Regions from separate parts of the Homo sapiens genome. Here regions 1, 2, 3, 5 and 6 are each linked to region 4. The links are contacts of gene promoters, found by promoter capture Hi-C in blood cells and fetal thymus (Javierre and others, 2016). All regions are on one chromosome and are shown on one strand. Each heading gives the region's core, a stretch centred on a gene start or on the middle of the fragment in contact. The rest is flanking DNA. Distances are from core to core; before and after follow the strand shown. Region 1 has its middle 250 kb from the start of ADAMTSL1. Region 2 has its middle 220 kb from the start of ADAMTSL1. Region 3 has its middle 200 kb from the start of ADAMTSL1. Region 4 holds the start of SAXO1 (stabilizer of axonemal microtubules 1). Region 5 has its middle 230 kb from the start of ADAMTSL1. Region 6 holds the start of ADAMTSL1 (ADAMTS like 1).

Evidence for each region. The method cuts DNA at HindIII sites, captures the fragments that hold promoters and counts their contacts. A CHiCAGO score of 5 or more calls a contact.
Region 1: a contact is called between a fragment that was not itself captured here and the fragment with the promoter of SAXO1 in region 4, in 1 of 17 cell types (fetal thymus). The highest score is 8.0, in fetal thymus.
Region 2: a contact is called between a fragment that was not itself captured here and the fragment with the promoter of SAXO1 in region 4, in 16 of 17 cell types (fetal thymus, megakaryocytes, naive CD4 T cells and 13 more). The highest score is 43.2, in fetal thymus.
Region 3: a contact is called between a fragment that was not itself captured here and the fragment with the promoter of SAXO1 in region 4, in 3 of 17 cell types (fetal thymus, megakaryocytes and M2 macrophages). The highest score is 9.4, in fetal thymus.
Region 5: a contact is called between a fragment that was not itself captured here and the fragment with the promoter of SAXO1 in region 4, in 8 of 17 cell types (fetal thymus, megakaryocytes, naive CD4 T cells and 5 more). The highest score is 13.0, in fetal thymus.
Region 6: a contact is called between the fragment with the promoter of ADAMTSL1 here and the fragment with the promoter of SAXO1 in region 4, in 2 of 17 cell types (endothelial precursors and fetal thymus). The highest score is 6.7, in endothelial precursors.

The regions. Positions count from the first base shown.
Region 1 is chr9:18,221,059-18,224,345 of GRCh38, reverse strand. It overlaps a transcript of ADAMTSL1 not described here. Among named protein-coding and RNA genes, the nearest start is that of ADAMTSL1, 250 kb to the left of the region's middle. The HindIII fragment of the contact is 5,046 bases long and covers 1-3,287 here.
Region 2 is chr9:18,256,884-18,259,936 of GRCh38, reverse strand. It overlaps a transcript of ADAMTSL1 not described here. Among named protein-coding and RNA genes, the nearest start is that of ADAMTSL1, 220 kb to the left of the region's middle. The HindIII fragment of the contact is 2,488 bases long and covers 386-2,873 here.
Region 3 is chr9:18,273,310-18,276,446 of GRCh38, reverse strand. It overlaps a transcript of ADAMTSL1 not described here. Among named protein-coding and RNA genes, the nearest start is that of ADAMTSL1, 200 kb to the left of the region's middle. The HindIII fragment of the contact is 735 bases long and covers 1,425-2,159 here.
Region 4 is chr9:19,031,771-19,034,958 of GRCh38, reverse strand. SAXO1 (stabilizer of axonemal microtubules 1) reads left to right here and starts at 1,750. Exons shown (of 4, transcript NM_153707.4): 1 at 1,750-2,088. The coding sequence starts at 2,051. RefSeq lists enhancers at 1,321-1,874, 1,875-2,428. The HindIII fragment of the contact is 8,262 bases long and covers 331-3,188 here.
Region 5 is chr9:18,240,421-18,243,410 of GRCh38, reverse strand. It overlaps a transcript of ADAMTSL1 not described here. Among named protein-coding and RNA genes, the nearest start is that of ADAMTSL1, 230 kb to the left of the region's middle. The HindIII fragment of the contact is 1,025 bases long and covers 985-2,009 here.
Region 6 is chr9:18,472,773-18,476,176 of GRCh38, reverse strand. It overlaps ADAMTSL1 (ADAMTS like 1), which reads right to left and starts at 2,024. Exons shown (of 29, transcript NM_001040272.6): 1 at 1,882-2,024. The coding sequence starts at 1,944. The HindIII fragment of the contact is 3,309 bases long and covers 1-3,173 here.

The DNA.
Region 1 (3,287 bases), core at 298-2,797, 810 kb after region 4:
CTGTCATGTGAGGACACAGCACTCCCCTCCTCTGGAGGATATAGCATTCAGGGCACCATCTTGAAAGCAGAGACCAGACACCGAACCTGCTGGTGTCTTGATCTTGGATTTCCCAGCCTTCTGAACTGTGAGAAATAAATTTCTGTTCTTTATAAATTACTCCATTTGTGGTATTCTCTTAAAGCAGCACAAAGGGACCAAGACCATGCCCAAATGGCAACTTTTTCAACAGTTGAAGCAGGAAAAATCTCTGGCTTCTAAGGACTGGGCATGTTCTAGGCTCTGGCTTGGTTCTGGAAAAGAGGATAAAAGAAGAAAAAAAAAGAATGCTTTTACTTATACTTCTCTGGAATCTGTATTCCTAACATCTGTGGCTTTTTAAAAATTAATATAAAAGAGTCCTAGATTAGCAATGATCCCAAATGCCTACCAGAGGAAAACATACAACCTCTATGGAGGAACACACGTTAAACCCAGGCCTCAAAAATTTCCCATGGTAAGTTCAAAAGAAAATGTATTCACAATTAAAAAAAAATCACTGGTCCCATAAAGAAACAAGCTACCATGGGTGAGAGACAAAAGAAGCAACAACCATAGAATTAAAGATAGATACATTGCATATACTAGAATTTTCAGGTACAATACATAAAACAGATATATTTAATATAGTTCAAGGATTAAATAAAATGCTTGCAGGTATGAAGTAGTAAGATATTATTAGAACTAACTAAGCATATTTGAAAAATAAACAAATTGAATTTCTAGAGATGAAAAGTATAATTTATATTAATAAGTCAGATTTAAAGAGATTAGACACCATTGAGGACAGGGCTAATGAACTGAAGTGGAGATAAATGCATATTAAACCAAATACAACAAAAGAAGCAAAAAGATGGTAAAGAAAATAAAATGAAAAAAATTCTAACTTACATATTTGTAGTTCTTAAAGGAGATACAGGTTGAGTATCTCATATATGAAATTCTTGGAACCAGAATTGTTTCAGATTTCAGAATTTTTCAGATTTTAGAATAATTGCATTATTCTTAATGATCGATCATTTCAAATCTGAAACCCCCAAATCTGAAATTGACCAAAGATAATTTCCTTTTGAGTATCATGTTCGTGCTCAAAAAATTTCAGATTTTGGGGCATTTAGAATGTTGGGTTTTCAGATTTCGGATGCTCAACATGTAATACTGATAATGAAGAAGAAGCAGATTTTGAGATATTGGCTGGAAATTGATGAATACACCAAGCCTTAAATTTAGAAATCTCCCTCCCCAAATGAATGAGGAAGAATAAATTAAAATGAAATCTATACCTAGATACTTCACAGTAAAACTGCAAAGTAATGACAAAGAGAAGACTTGAAAGCAGACAGAAAAGACAGATTATCTATACAGATACAAAAATTACACTGGCAGCTCTATTTTCAATAGCCACATAAGAGATAAAAATGGTACAGTAATGTCTGGAAAGTAAAAATATAAAATAAATATCAACCTGGAATTGTCTACCAAGGAAAACTACTTTTCAAGAATTAGGATAAAATAAAGATGTTTTTGCAGGCAAACAATTATGGTAAGAGTTTTCTATACATAATAAACAAACTTCTAAACTATTTATTTCAAGAAGAAAGAAAATTCTCCCAGGATTTAGGTTTAAAAAGAAAAAAGGAATGGCAAAAAAAAAAAAAAAAAGAGTATATGAGTAAATTGAAACAAATACTGATTGGAATATACAATGCTAATAACTAATTTATGAGATAAAAACAAAATCAAAGTAGGACTAAAATCCTAAACAAAAACAGTAAGCAAACTGGGAAAAGATGATTGAAGTGAAAGCATTTCAAATGAATTTATTTGTAAGGTGATTAAAGATATTTATTAACCTTAGATGATGTTAATTTAAATATGTATGTCACAATTGCCAAGATAAGTACAAAATGAATAGAAACTAGAAGTTCCAAATTAAATAAATAAAATAAACCAAGCCAAAGGTAGCAACAAAAAAGTAACAGATAAAATAGAAATTATGAAAATATGAATCCAAATGACAATAAGAACAATTATACAAATTGACCAGTTTTGAAATTTTAGAAAGTTTATCAGACTGGATTGAGAAAAAAGCAAAAACAAAATTAGCTATATGTTATACACAAAGGATACTTCTAGAACATAAAGAAAACACTGAAAGTTAAAGATGGAAAAAATTTAACAGGAAAATACTAATCAAACAAAATCATAGATAGCCATTTTAATATGGAATAAAATAGAATTCAAGGCAAAATTATTACTAGGGATAAAGAGGGTATAAATGGTTATATAACTTTTAAGACTCGGGAAGATACAAATCTAAACATGAATGTACTTTATAATAGAGTCTGAAATATAAAAAACAAACACTAAACTTGAAGAAAATCATTATAAATTTGTCATAATGGTGGGAAATTCTAACATGCCTGACAAACTGATAAATCAAAAAGACATAAATAAAACAACAAGAATATAGATATGAAAATGCCACCAACCCCAATAAAATAACATTAATCTAAGGGACTTATATAGAACACTGCAGCAACAACTGGATAACACACACAGTTGACAATGTACAAGGCCAATAACAAAAAGATAAATATGTTTGGAAATTTATAAACATACTTCTAAATAAGAAGAAATTATAATGGAAATTAGAAAATACGTAGAACTAAATTATAACAACAATTACATATCAAAACATGCATAATGTAGCAAAAGAACTGTTAAAGGAAAATTTATAGGCAAGCTCTTACATTCAAAAAAAGTAAAATAAGGCTGAAAATATATCCACAAAGCACACAACTTAGTGCAGTATAGAGAGATAAAAAGAAGGAAAATCAAGCTAAAAGATGTGAAGGATAAATAAGATGTTTCAACACACAACTCAGGCATCCTAGAATAAGAGAACAGAGTGGGGAAGGGGCACTGTGTGAACACATAAAGGCTGAGTATTCTTCAGAATTAAAGAAAATTATAAAATCTTCATGTTAAAGAAACATAATGCATTCCCAAAAGACCAACAAAAATAAATTTGCACTTGGTCACACTGTTGTGTATAGCAACAGCAATAATGTGTCCAATTTGCGGGGGTTAAAAACAAAGCAAAACCAAAAAACTAAACAGTGAGGTGATTGAAATTAAACATTCTACAGCCTTTCAGGAGGAAGGCATGATATCTACTAATTTAGATTTTCTTTAACAAGGTATGCATGCTTAAAATTTAGGAGTAACGGGCTGGGCATGGCGAC
Region 2 (3,053 bases), core at 380-2,879, 770 kb after region 4:
AGTAGTTACAAAGAAAGATCATGATCTCACAGTGACTAGGAAACAACCATAATTGTGAACTTTATATAATTGTTCTTTCCCTTTTTATTTTTTTAACTAAGAAAACCAGCATGAATAGGAATAAAAATAACACAATGGCACCATTTCCTATTACTCTAAGCACGTCACCTATTACCTTATTTCATCTTACAAGCGCATTAGGCGTTATTAGACCCCAGTTCCCAAGAAAACTTGAGTTTGGCACATTTAGGAAACTTTCAGAAAAGTCAAAGTGATGGAAACCTAACAAGTCAAAGGAGGTGTGATGGGGGGAGAGGGGAGCAGAAAGAGGAGGGCTGTGTCCCCTGGGAGCCTTGTAAGCTGTACTACCTGAGCACATTAAGCTTGTGATGCTACATAAGGATATATGTATTTTTTTTTTTTTTTTGAGACAGAGTTATTCTGTCATACAGGCTGGAGTGTGGTGGCAGGATATTAGCTTACTGCAACCTCTGCCTCCCGGGCTCACCTCAGCCTCCTGAGTAGCTGGGACTACAGGCATGTGCCACCATGCCTGGCTAATTTTTTGTACTTTTTGTAGAGACGGGTTTCACCGTGTCGCCCAGGCTGGTCTTAAACTCCTGGGTTCAAGTGGTCCGCTCACCTCAGCTTCCCAAAGCGTAGATGAGGAATTTAACTAAGATGGGTAGTAGGTGGTTGGCTATATGGGCCTTTCATTCCTAAAGTTTGGGCTGGAAGCTATGACTTTGGTAAGCACATGGATGGTGTTTTAAGCCCACATGAGCATAAGAAATTGCCTAGGAAATGAATGTAGAGAGAAGGAAAGAGGATATAATATGGAGCCAGGAGAAATATGCAGGAAACAGAAGCCAACAGTGAAGACTCAGAGTCAAAGAAAAGTCACTTAACTGGAAGCCAATGGCAGAGACTATGTCAAGAAGGGAGTCGTCAAGTGCGTTGAATGATCGTGGCAATTCTGGTAAGGACTGAGGAATGTTCACTGGACTTGGTAAGATGAAGGTCATTGCTGACCTACGCAGAAGCAATTTCATTCAATAATCAGGAGAGAAGCCAAAGTATAATAAAGACTGAATAAAATTAAGGATGTGTAGACAGTAAGTGAAGATGCGTGGTTATGACAAGGAGAAAGATGAGAGACAACCTGGTGTGTGAGGGACCAGGCAGAATTTGCAGGCTTTGTTGGTTCATTTGAGAGAGCAATGTAAGCACACAGAAGCGCTACTGGAAGACTCCAGGAGCCAGGGAAAGATCGATGATGCGGGCGGGGATCCTGGTGCCATGAGGGTCCTGGAGAAGGCACTGGCGGTGGGTGTGGAGATCCAGGCCACACAGGAATGTGATTGTCTCTGCTAGGTGAGACCTCTCCCTTTGGAACAGAATGGCAAGAGGCAAGGATGGCAGATTAAGGGAAGAAGAGAGAATGCAGAGAAAGCTGCAATTACAAGGAGGCCCTGGCAGGCTCTGAGGCTCTCCCTGCATTCCCCATCCTCCTTTCTCCTATGTGGCTTTCTGGCTCAGAACCCTCTTTCTCCCAATGTTCTGTCATCTCCAACTCTTTTTCTTTTATTTCAGATAATTCCTCGTTTACCTCATTTTGCATACTAGCATATCACCTTGCCTTTTCATTGATCTTTTTCTTGCGTACGCATCTTGTTTGAGAAAGGAACTCTGGTTGTTCTTTTATTACTGGTAAATACATACAACATAAAATTTGCCATTTTGCCTATTTTTAAGTGTACAATTTAGCAAAAAACCTGGTTTTTATTTTATTACTTGTAAATACACATAACATAAAATTTGCCATTTTACCTATTTTTAAGAGTACAACTTAGCAGCTTTACGTACGTTCATTCACATTGTTGTGCAGCTATCACCAAGATCTATTTCCAAAAACTTTTTCATCATCCCAAACAGAAATTCTGTACCCAGGAAACAATAACTCCTTTTTCCCTCCTTCCTTCTGCTCTGAAGATCTCAATTCTCGTTTCTGTCTCTATGAAGTTTCCTATTCTAGGTGCCTTCTATAATTGGAATCACATAGTATTTGTCCTTATTTTACCTAGCATATTTGTAAGATTCATTATAACTCTATCAGAATCATTTCTTTTTATGACCAAATAATATTTTATGTCTAGGCCTCATTTATCTACTCATCTGTTGTTTCCACCTTTTAGCTATTGTGAATAATGCACTATAAACATGGGTGTGTGCTTTCGGTTCTTTGGGGGTATATATCTAGAAAGAGAATATAGCTGGATGATAAAGTAATTCTGTGCTTAACTTTTTGAGAAGCTGCTCAACTGTTTTTCATAGGGGCTGTACTATTTTACACTCCCAACAGCAATGCACGAAGATTCCAATATCTCCATATCATCACCCACACATTTTATTTTCTGTTGTTGTTATTATTATTATTTTGGAATAATAACTATTGTAGTGTGAAGTGATATTTCATTGTTGTGTTATTGTACATTTTCCTAATAACTGGGGTGTTGAGCATCTTTTCATGCGCTTATTGAACATCTGTATATCTTTAGAGAAAATGTCTATTCAAGTCCATTGCAAATTTTTAATTGAGTTGGATTTTGTTTTGAATTCTCTGCCTTTCACATTATCTTTTTGGATCTCCTCCATTCTGTAGCAAGATACTCTTGATAAATTAGAAAATTACAAAATAACTTTTTGTTTTTAAAAAACATTTTTATGAAAAATTTCAAATATGAAAATTTAAAGAATTGTGTTGTGATGATCACCATACCTGACATCTAATTTTTGTAATTGATATTTTATTATATTTGACTTATTTCATACCTATCATCTATCCAACATTCTACCTGTACATCAATCAAGCTTATTTTTTGGATGAATTTAAGATAAGTTGAAGATATCAGGAAATTATTTTTAATGAACAAAAACCACTCTCATGGAATGTGTAAGCTTGAGGCAGGGGTACAGCTGTCTCTGGGACTTCTCTGGCAGATAAAGTACAAGCACAGAAGAGGGGTAAAAGTCAGTGGGGGTTTAAAACTCTT
Region 3 (3,137 bases), core at 543-3,042, 760 kb after region 4:
AGAAAATGGGAAAATCTTAGAGAACTTGAGTTAGGCAAAGTTTTCATAGGACACATAGTAAATAAACCATAAATGAAAATATATACATTGCACTTCATAAAACTTAAAAGTTTTGCTGATCAAAAATACCATTAATAATATGGAATGGGAAGCAACACGTTAGTATAAAACATTTGCTAAACATATATCTGACAAAGAACTCTTTTCTAAAATATTTAATGAAGCCGTTCAACTTAATAATAAAAAGACAAACACCCAATAAAAAAGGGGCAGGGGTGATAGGTCTGAAAAAACAACTCATTAAAAAAAATATACAAATGGCAAATAAGCACAGTTGGGTATCAGTACACAACCACTGGGATAACTAAAGACTTTTGGTGGCTAAACCTGTATCAGATAAAATAGACTTTAAGTAAGAAACTTTCAGAAGAGACACTTGTAGGGAAACCAGAACCCTCATATATTGCTGGTGGAAATGCAAGATGGCACATCCACTTTTGAAAAGAGTTTGGCAGTTCCATATAAATTTGAACATGCATTTATCATAGGAGCCTACAATCCTACCCTGAGGTAGGATTTACCCAAGAGAAGTAGAAACACGCCTACATAAAGACCTGCACACAAGTATGTAATAACAGTTTTATTAATAATAGTCTCAAACTGGAAATAGCCCCAAATGTCTATGACTCACTAAAGGATTAACAAATTCTGGTACATCTAAACAATGAAATACTACTCAGCAATACGAAGGAATAGACTACTGATACATTAAAGATGACAGATGGCCCTCAAAAACATGCTATGTGAAACAATTTAGACGTAATACATTATATATTATCTGATTTCATTTACAGAAAATTCTAGAAAAGGCAGATCTGTAGTGGCAAAAAAAACCAGATCAGTAGTTGCCTAGGGCTAAGGTGAGATTAGGGATGGGCAATGACTGGTAAGTAGAATAAGAGAACTTTTTGTGCTGATGAAATTGTTCTGAAACTTGACTGTGGTTGGTGATAGTTGGATGACTATTCATATTTACCAAAACTCATAGAACTGTACACTTAAAATGGGCTAATTTTATTGTATATATAAAATACATCAATAAAGCTGTAAAATAAATGGGTATGAAACTATGCAGAAGTGCTGTGAAGAACAGTTTTTATTAATAGCTATAAAGTAATGCGCACAATAATGGGAGTAAGTGAATAAGCTCTCTCTCACCCTCATTTTGTTCCTTTTAACTTCATTATTAGAGGTAATGACTAAGAGGTCTTTTGAAATTAGTTTTTACTCTTTCTTTAAATACTCCCAATTGAATTGTATGGCTCTTTCACATAAAATGCCAAATACAAATTTTGCCCAGATGGACAAAAGATGTATTGTCTTCAAATCATTGGGTTGGCTCTCTTACTTTAGATATCCAAGCTTAAAAGCAACCAGATGAGGTTTCATGGAATTTTGTAAAAAGGAAAGAAAAAAGAAGACAATGATGAAGAAGAAATAATGAAAACAACTTTTGCTCATGGGAGGAAATTTTCTGTGCCAACTTTCAGTTCAGAATGATCTTTTATTGGCCAAATTCCAAATTCCTCAAAGTACAGGCTTACAATGGAAGTGCTGACACAATCTCAAATGCAGTGCTGCAAACAGGATGATATAATGAATGCTGTGTACATTTACTTACTATCTTTTATAATAGTCTCTTTTGCAACGATTTGCCTCATTTTAGTTTTTTTATTTTAGTCTTAATGCTAGAAAAAGTGGTTGAAAATCATGCCTTTTCCAAACTCTGTTTTTGTGCACTTATTATATAATAAAAATTAACCTTGGTGCTGAAATTTTTCAGACTTGTTTCTCTCTAAATGAGCATAATGAATATTTTTTTTTGCATTAAGTACAAATTTTCTTTTTATTTTGCCTATTTCTGTTGTATTATGAAATACCTCAGACATTGCAGATTTCTTTTCAAACTACTAACTCTTTTCATGAGGATATAATCAATTTCTATAACTGAAAATAATCTAGATGAAAAACTTGCTTATTTGGGGGAAAGAAATATTAGCTCAGTTTGCACATGTGTGATTTTGTACTCCATATTTCATGTTTTTTAAGATTTGGACAACTCAACAACGCTACATTATTACCATATGTTAATCAAAGCTTAATATGCAAGAAGAAAGAGCACTAGATATTACCTACATTTTTACGAATGCATCAAATAAACCATGCGTAGCGATAGGGATAAAGATTCGAGCTTTCTTCCCATGACACACCTGGAATAATCAGACTAAACTGCATGAATGAGAACTCACACTTCTTGCTTTTGCAATACAAGTGAGAGATATCTAAATTCCTTCATTCAAAATTTCTCTTCCATAGCTTCATTCTAGACTCACCCTCCAAATTATCTAAACCTAAAGTTTAAATAGGTCATTTAAATTATGATTTGTATGTATGCACACAGGACAGCAGCAGGATTTACGCATTTTAGGGAAACGTACCTGAGAATTTCCAGAATTTAATGCATAAAAAAATCTCTAAGGATCTTTCTGCACAGTTGACAATGATTAAGATCTGGTATGATAAATGTAGATATTTGATACTCAACAGTGGAAGACTGATCACTCAGAATTAGGTAATAAGATATGGAGCCTTCACATTACATTTTGTCCATTGAAATCTAGGTTACAACCAAGGAACTGGATGAAGTTGACCACATGGTTGGCATTGTGAGTGAAATGAATCTGAATTTGGCTTTTAGGCGGGATCAACACATAAAATTGCCATCCTAATGGTACCACACTTGACACTCTCAGTGGTAGAATAAGAATGATGCCGAGGACTAAATTTGTTGAGAATATATTTTCAAATTTGGAAGATAAATGTAACCAGGGGGCCTGCAGAACCAAAATTACTAGAAATGCCTGCACTGCCCCTTACCAATTTTCCTCTTTTCTGCTTACAAATAAAAGTCTTAATTTTTGTGAGAACATAAAAGGCTCAGAGACAGCTATATCCAATAACACAACTAAAAGTGTTCTACTATGGATGTCAATATGACTGTGAGGTGGCCGGGCGTGATGACTCACTCTTGCAATCCCAGCACTTTGAGAGGCCAACGCGGGCGGATCACTTGAGGT
Region 4 (3,188 bases), core at 501-3,000:
CATGATTGTTGACAAGGTGGCCACCCACAAGGGCAGTTTGAATGGCAGGGGGCATGAACAGGCATTCTTCTGCTGAAAGATTTATGGATAATGTTTAGGCAGCCATCAAGAGAAGGCTGGTGTCCAGCACTGTATTTCCTCTGTAAGGACTGTGTGATGTTCTCTGTCAATGGCAATGGATGGCATGCAGGTTTTGCTTTGACTTCCAATAGCTCCCACCTCTTTTTTGTCTGGCCATGTTTCCATCCTCCCCTGTAGAGTTCTGACTTCCTACTGGGAAGGCAAGGAGCAGCTTCCCACCCCACTGTTCTTAAGAATGATCAATAAGCTTTGCTCCTGTCTGAATCTACCTTGCTGACTTCCTATAACTGGGGTTGGAACTCTCTCTCTGTAAAATGTCAGATAGTGAATATTTTAGCTTTTGTGGGCCAAGAGGCAAAATCGGGAATGTTTACACAAATTTTTTGAAAAAATTCAAAACTTTATTCACAGACACTGAAATTTGAATTTTAGGTAAGTTTCATTTGTCATGTAATATTATTATTTTAATTTTTTCAACCATTAAAAAATATGAAAACCATTCTTAGCTCAATGGCCAGATAGAGTCAAGTGGCCAACTGCAGACAATAGTTTGCTGACCTCTATTCTAGAGCCTATTACTGAAGGAAAAAACCTAACCCCCCCCACACAAAAAGAAACCCTCTGAATATTAAGTGTCTTGCAGTCCAAGATGCCTCTGACTGACTCATTCACTAAAATGAATGGAAAGAGTTAGGAAGCATAGGAAAGAAAAGCATAAAGATTGTCAATACTTTAAGCTCCCATTTCCCATAAGCAGGAAGTCAAAATGTTTTAAGTCCAAACAACTGGCCAGAGCAGTGTCTTTTGAACTTGCTTCATGACCAGAATCACCTGGCTTCTTGTTGAAGCTAGATTCCCGGACTAGAGGTTTTGATGCAAGGGAGACTTCTGGGTGGGGGTGTGCTCTCGGGATCAGGTAAGCTGAAGAAACACTATTCCAGGGGGTGTAAAGGAACCTCAAAAGCTGTAGTTCTTAAAGTGTGGTCCGTGGCCCAGCAGAACCAGCATTACCTGAGAGCTTGTAAGAAATGCAAGTCTTTGGCCTACCCTAGAAACACTGAATCAGAAACTGGGGGTGGGGTCTGGCAATCTGGTTTTCATCAAGCCAGGTGGTCCTGATGCCAACTAGAATTTGAGAACGCCTGCTTCAAGGCATCATTACCAGCATCTGGAGAAGTGATTGAGAACCCACCTGAGCAGTGAAGGCCTGGGCGCTCTTAAACCACTGTGTTCTCAAGAGCGCAGGTCTGTGGGTGAGAGCAATTCTAACAGACATCTGAAGCCAAAGGCCTAGGTTTCCACAGGAAGATCTGGAAACCCTGTTCAAGGCAAGCCTTTTGGAAGTCAAGGCTGTATTCCCCTAAGAGGGGGCACCATGGATCCTAGAGATAGCAAATGCCACCCAAGGTGATGGTGAGGGAGTTTTCAGCTTTTCTGCACGTGTGACCGTTTACTGCACCAGGAGCTTTCTAGTGACTTCCACCTTTTTCAGGTTTTTCCAAGGTTCACCGGGGAACCCCTGTCCTGGGCCTGCCAGTGAGGTGCTGGGAGCTTCCCGACCTCACAAGCGGCTCTTGTGATGTAATTGCCACCTGAGGCGTGCCCCTCCTGGCCCTGGCGACATCACAGAGGCTACCTGGGCACGGACCCCGCAGCTTCCTGGGGCCCAGTCAGCCGCTCCAGGTGCTTAAGTCTGGACTGCGGAGGCCGGGGCGGTGGCGTGCAGGGTGAGGTCTCCCGGGCTGGCGCGCGTGCAAGCCCCCTGCTGCTACCTCGCGCTAGGCCAGCTCCAGGAGGGCAACAGACGACAGGACATTGCAAAAGGGCCACTTAAATTTTCCTTCGAGTAAACAGAACACCTGCCAAGACCCTCGAGCCTGGGCGTGCCCCAAGACAGGTGGTTGGGGTCTAGGAGTCGGCTGCAGCTGGCGATGCTCTGAGGGGACGTCAGGGCCTCAGGATCGCCCCTATGAAGACGAAGTGCATCTGTGAACTGTGCTCCTGCGGGTAAGGTGGCCACGCCCAGGGCAAGGCTGGGGGAGCCTGGGTTTTCAGACTCCCGAGGAAGGGAAGCCTCCCCCAGCTGCTTCATCAGGCGGCATCACGGTGGGTTCGTCCACTTGCTACGTTTTTTAAGCCACAATTGTGTCAACTAGCGTTGTGCCCGCGGACGCCACATCAGTTCTGGCGAATGTGGCTGTTTTCGGGCCTTCTGTGCCGCTTCACTTGAGAACTGCAGGAGGGTTGAAAATGGGCGTGACCGCGCAGTCTGCACTCCCTTCCCTGAAGCCCAGAAAGTGTCAGCCAAGGAGGGAGAACACCTGGCCCAGTGGGACCAGTCTTGCTCCTTTTGGGAAAGTGATAGGATGGGAGGAGAATTCCTGTAGTATAACTGAATTTCTCATTCAGAGAGATTGTTACTTTGTCAGAGAAGTATAAGGTATTAGTAAAACTTGTTCCACATTGTGTAGAGTTGAATAAGGATAATGAAAACATTACTTTCACAGTCGCCTGGCCTGCCAGGTCTCCCTTCTAACCTTTAAGGACCATCTTTGGGTGGAAGCGCAGTAAAGGTGGTCCTGGGGGAAATCATGGACTTTAGTCAGAGTCCCACGGGCTGACTGGTCTGCTGTCACTCACATGATCTCTTAGAGGCTCCTTCTATCTGCTTCCCAGGGCAGCTGGGTTTCTGCTTGGCTGGGGCAGGGAGTGGGCAGCAGAGGAGCAACAGGCAAGAGGGTTCTGAGGTCACCTTTCCTGGGCTGTCATTAATTGTGGGATCTTAGATTGGTAACTAAACTCCAGGTCATAGTCGCCTCATCTGTACCAACAATACGTACCTCATAGGACTATTGTAAGAGTTAAGATCATGTATGTGAGTCCTGGTACATGGATTGTGCTTAATATGTTAGTGTCCTGAAATCTGAAAAAAGGGCAAATATGACACATGCATATAAAAATGGTATCAGTAGTGTGGAGAATTAAAGGGCACTCTAAAAACTGGATCAGCAACCTTCTATATCTCTGGCATCAATAAATGGTTCCCAACTCTGGCTGCTGATTAGAATCACACAGGGAGTTTGAAAACTATCAGTTGCTCAGGCCGT
Region 5 (2,990 bases), core at 248-2,747, 790 kb after region 4:
TTCAGGGTTAGAGATGGTGGGGATAGAAGCACATCTGTAATGGAGTGAGCTGATTGTTAAGCATCTATCAATGAGCATAAGAAAGGGCAAGAGAAGAAGGAGTAATATTTTGGAAGAATTACAAGAGAGAAGGAATGTGGCAACCATTTTCCAGCACCATTTATTGAAGAGACTCTTCTTTCACCATTGTATCCTCTTGGTTCCCTTGTCAAAAATTAGTTGACCATATAAGTATGAACTTATTTCTGGACTCTATTGTGTTCCACTGGTCTATGTGTCTGTTTTAATGCCAGTACCGTACTGTTTTGATTACTACAGCTTTGTAATATAATTTTAAATCAGAAAGTGTAATGTCTTAATTTTTCTCTCAGAAACATTTTGGCTATTCAGGGTCTTTTATGGTTCCATATGAATTTTAGGACTGTCTTATTTTTGTAAAAATGCCATTAGGATTTTGATAGATGTTGCATTGAATCTGTATATTGATTTGGGTAGTATGGGTGTTTTAACAGCAATAATTACTTCAATCTATGAACATGAGATATCAATCCATTAATTTATATTTTCTTTAATTGCTTTCATCAATGTTATAGTTTCAGTGTAGAGATTGTTCACCTCCTTGGTTAAATTTATTCCTAATTTTTTAAAAAACTATCATAAATGGGATTGTTTTATCAATTTTTTCAATTAGGTTGTGATTTGTGTATAAAAATGATACTGATTTTTATATGTTGATTTCATATCCTACAACTTTAGTGCATCAATTTATTTAAAAGCTTATTTGTGGTATCTTTGAGTTTTTTTAACATGTAATAGATCATACCACCTTCAAATAGAGATAATTGTATTTCTTCCTTTCTTACTTGAATGCCTTTTATTTCTTTTCCTTGTCACATGGTTCTTGCTAATAGTTCTAACACTATGTTGAATAGAATTAAAGAGAGTAGACAACCTGGCTTCATACTGGATCTTAATGAAAAAGCTTTCAGTTTTTCCCCATTGATTCTAATGTTAGCGGTGAGTTTTTCCAAATGGCCTTTATTATGTTGAGGAATTTTCCGTATTTACCTAAAATGTTAAGAGTTTTTATTAAGAAAGGATTTTTGACTTTGTTGAATGCTTTTTCTGCATCAAGTGAGACAATCATGTGGTTTTTAATCTCTCATTCAGTTAACATGATATATTACATTGATTGATTTGCATATGTTAAACCAGCCTTGCATGTCAGGGATGAATCCCATTTGTTCATGATATGAAATCTTTTTGATGTGTTGTTGACTTTAGTTTGCTAATATTTTATAGAGGATTTTTACATTAATGTTCATCAGAGAATTGGCTTATAGTTTTCTTTTCTTGTGATGTCTTTGTCTGGCTTAGGTATCAAGGTGATGGTGGCCTTATAAGATGTGTTAGGAAGTACTCCCCCTCGAGTAATTTGGAAGAGTTTCATAAGTATTGGTATTAATTTTTCTTAGAATATTTGGTAAAATTCAACTATGAAGGCATGAGGTTTTTTGTTGCTGTAAGGGTTTTTGTTGCTTTTTCAATTTCTTTATATGTTATTGATCTGTTCAGGATTTCTATTTCTTCCTGATTCTATCTTTGTATGTTGTATTTTTCTAAGAAGTTATCCATTTCTTCTAGGTTATCCCATTTTTTGGTATATAACTGCTCATAATAATCCCTTATGATCCTTTTTTATTTCTAAGGCATCTGTTGTAACTTCTTCACTTTCATTTTTGATTTCATTTGAGCCTTTTCCTTTTTGTTTAGACTAGCTAAGGTTTGTCATTTTGTTTATATATGTCTTATAACATCATGTTATATATGTTAAACATGTGCAATACAAATTTTTTTTTTAAAGAGAGAAGAAACACATTTTGGCTGTTTTAGTCTACTCAGAGCTTGAGAAGGGAATATTAATAGCCTGAAAGGAAGGCTCTACTGCAAAAGGCAAGATAAATGATAACCTGGACAAGATATCATTGATGGAGCAAGACTAGGAAGCTTAAGAAAGTGTGATCAAGAATACAGGTAGGTGAAATTAAGAGAAGCCAGAAAGGGTTCTACAGAGGCAACAGCAAAGAAAGGGAGGAAGAATAATTGAACGTTGAAATTAGGCCAATTAATGACCCTATAATGGCTTCTAAGTGTTCAAGTGAAAGGAAAAGGCATTTATCTTTCACTTGAAATCAAAACCTAGAAATGTACCTTAGTGAGGAAGACATGTCAAACACCAAAATAGACAGAAAACTAGGCTTCTTGTACTCAGTAGTTAGTCAAATGCAAAGGAAAAGTTCTTGAAGGAAATTAAAAATGCTACTCCAGTGAACACAGGAATAAGAAACAGCCATAATGACGATATGGAAAGTTTTAGTGGTCTGGAGAGAAGATCAAACCAGCCACAATATTCTCTTAAGTCAAAGCCTAATCCAGAGCAAGGCCCTAACTCTCTTCAATTCTGTGAATGTTGACAGAAGTGAGGAAGCTGCAGAAGAGAAATTTGAAGGTAGCAGAGGTTGGTTCATGAGGTTTAAGGAAAGAAGCTGCCTCTATAACAGAAAAATGCAAGGTAAAGCAGCAGATGCTGATACAGGGCTGCAGCAAGTTATCCAGAAGATCTAACTAAGATCACTGATGAAGGAGGCTGCACTAGACAACAGATTTTCAACGTAGATGAAACAGCCGTATAAGATATGTTAGGGAGTACTCCCTCTGGAGTACTTTGATATCTTATATTCAATGGCATCTTATATTCAATGATATCTTATACTGAAAGAAGATGCCATCTAGGCCTTTCAGTAGCAGATAGGAGAAGTCAGTTCTTTGCTTCGAAGGACAGTCTAACTCTCTTGTTATGGGTTAATAGAGTGGTAGCTTTAAGTTGAAGAAAATGCTCATTTCCCATCCTGAAAATTCTAGGGCCCCTAAGAATTATGTTAAAACTACTCTGCCTGTGCTCTATAAATGGAACAACAAAGCCTGGATGA
Region 6 (3,404 bases), core at 775-3,274, 560 kb after region 4:
CTTGGCAAAGGGATGTATGTAAACATCAGTCAGTTCTTCCTTTTGTAGCATAACTCTCAGATTTCCACTTAATTTAAATGCAGGCATAAAACAAACCTAGGTTTGTTTTAATTTTATCTTTATAATACAATTATTGTAATTTAAATATGATATGTTTTAAGTCCTTCTGAAATAAGCATACATACCTTTTCATTCCACATAAGTCAAATTATATGCTCTAATACATATATGAATATTCAAGATATCACAGAGGGATATAATGCGTTTACCAAATGGATAGCAAAACAATCTATTCCTGAATGGGAAAGTTTTACTAAAGTATAATGAGATCATACTTCCATATGAAAATATCAAAAAAGTAATGTATACTGGTAATTTGCTTTATGATGCAATATAATGGGAAAATAACACACACTTAAAAAAATCACAAAGAAGGAAAGATGAGACAAACTAATGGTGTATACAAGTAACACATCCCATATGGAAAAAATGAGACACCTTTCATAAATCGCTTGCTCCACAAGTCATAAAGCATACCTAAACATTCTGTTCTTTGTATTTTTCAGAACAGCTAAAACTTATAGTTCATTCATGCTTGAAATGTAGTTTACCTTTAAATTTCTATGAAAAATTAAAAATTTATTTCTATATTTATAGCACTTGCAATGCAGCATTATAATTTCTTAGCTACAATGATGCAAATCATTAAGAAGTGGGAATGTATAAAATATTGAATCACTGTCTGATTACTCTATTTGATGAATCTCCTGGACTTTTTCAGTTTGTACCAAATGGCTTTCTTCCCTACTTCAAAATTATAGCGCAGATCAGATTTGTCAGAATATAATCAGAACAAACATTCCTTCCCCATCAAGGAATCAATGCAACCTATTCATTTGCTACATTTTTACCTTGTTCTCTTCCTGCCTTGTTACCTTCTGAGGAAGTTCTGGCATGTTATAAATGTGACAGGAAAAACTACAATCACATTTGTTTGGATCAGTGTGTGCAAATTTTGGAATCAAACCTTCAGATGAGGTTTACTAAGCTGCCTGCCCAGAACACTCTGGTTTAAAAAATGTGCATTGCTATTAATATTTTGAGTGTAGATTTATTTTGGACAGTAAATGTTCATTTTCTGCCCATAAAACCAAGTATGAGTCACAACGGAACATTTACTTCGAGTCAAAAATGCAATGTGTACTGACGTTCAAGAGCAGAGCATCTTATCACTATGACTGTGGCAATCAGCCGTACTAAAAGTCACCATTCCTTTTTCTTCTTTAAAAGTAAATTTGAGATCAAAGGCCATAATCCTCAATTCATAAATCCTAGCATTAACTTCTATCCATAAATGACTTGCAGTAATTAAGAGCCATAATCTGGGTTGGCTGCAAAGAGGCTCTCATTCCCCTCTTTACCTGGTTCCATAGTACATGTGCATAGATGGAAAGTAATTCATTAAAGGCGGTACGGGCAAGCTCTGCAAAGCCTATCCATCAAAAAATTCCAGGAACACCACAGTGAGTGAGTTTAATTTCAGGATGTCTGTTATCCAAATTCCAAGCATACACACCACCATATATACAGTCCTCAGCTCCCAAACTCCATGCAGTATGTCCCAAAGTTCATGTCTCAGTATCAGTATTACTGTATAGCAGTAACTAATTCCAGAAAGTCTTGCAGACTTTATCTTGCTTGGGAAGTTGAGGTTAAAAGTTCTAGAAGGAGTATTCTCTCTTTGTAATCGTGTAAATTATTTTACCTGGAGTTTTAAGATAAAGACACACACACACACACAAACACACATACACACACACACCCCCAACAGCACCCAGACTCAATGGCAATAGCAATGCATTGAAATGAAAAGGCATTTACCAGGAGCAGGAAAGCCAGAAAGAGGAGCAGTGTGCCAGGAGTTGCCCGACGGCAGCATTCCATGCTTGGATCCTTGCCGGAATCAGAATCGGACACTGAATAAGCTGCTAAGTGCTCCTCTGCCTGCTGTCACATCCAGTACTGGTGCTAACACTCCAGTCCTGCCTATCAGCTTCCATCAGCCCCTCTCACATTTCCTGACCGAGGGGTGGGTGGGTGGATGGGTGGGGGGTAAGCTGAATGGAATCTCTCTCGGAGCAGGCAGCCAGCCAATCAGGCTCCTGCTAATCAGACATGCTGAATAACAAAGCCAGGAGGACAGAGAAAGTGTAACGGTGCGAGCAAAAAAGGGGGAAAAGGACGAAAAAGAAAGGCGAGCGAGCAGCAGAGCGAGAAGGGAAATGCAAAAGATGCAGAATTGCAAAAGATGAAGCCAAGCACTGTGCTTCCCATGGACCTGGTTAGTTCTTTGTGAGATGCATTTCTATTTGCCATTTGCCTGTGCTGATGTCTGTTGCTTTGTAAAGTACAGTAGCTCCCTGTGACTGTGTATTGTTCCATTCAGGAGAGAAACTTAATCCCTGTCAATATATAACATATGCCATAAAGGGAAAGAACCATAGACAAAAACCGACTTAATGTGCCCTGTAAATGTGTTCTGTACAACTGTTTTATTTCGCCTCCATAAAGTTCCTCTTTACTTTCTCTCTTGACTTGCAAAATAAATACTCTATACATTTTCTGAAGGTTCCTCACTAAGCCTAAACAGTGGCATAAGTTATTTTGTGTTATTAAGGACTTAATTTGGGGGGAAAAAAACAAAGCAAGTTGCTTCTCTGTAAAGTGACAATTGAAGGCATTTAAGATTTGCTAATTGTAAAGGCACAATTAGAAACTTAGATCCCCCAGTTTAAAAAGAAACCCTCAACAAAGACTCCAGGATGAGTGGGGCTGAAATTTGGGGTTGAGGAGCAGCCTGGTTTTGATGCACTGCCAACTCTCAACTATCTATTTTAGCCACGGGAGAGAAAGAAAGGATGAATTAAATCCTCAGTTAATCCCCAAACCTTCTTTTAACCAAGTTTCAGCTTCCTCCGCACCTCACCCACGTCCTTTATCAGAGCTGTTATAATGCAGAAAAGGCTGAACTGAGTTTTACCTCATTTTTCCATCCACTATTGCAAGAGGGTTGGATGGGATGACCTTGGAGGCCAGTCCAGCCCTGAAGGAAGTGCTAATGAGCAGTGAAATGACGACAAGGCCAGCAACAGCAACGAGAAGGTCAGGAAGCTTCTGAAGCTGCTTAATCCACCAGCAAGGGAGATTTGACTCTACTAGAGGAAGGTTTTATTACAGTTTTAGAAAAGTGTCAAATGTCAAACAAGGATGTATTTCCCCTTATCTGCAAAGGAAATCATTGAGTTTTGAAAGAATAAAAGAGCAGCCCTGGCCTTACATTGCCATAGGTGTGTCATCAGGACGTTTTCCCTTTTCAGATCTCCTGATAGCCCAGAAATATATGC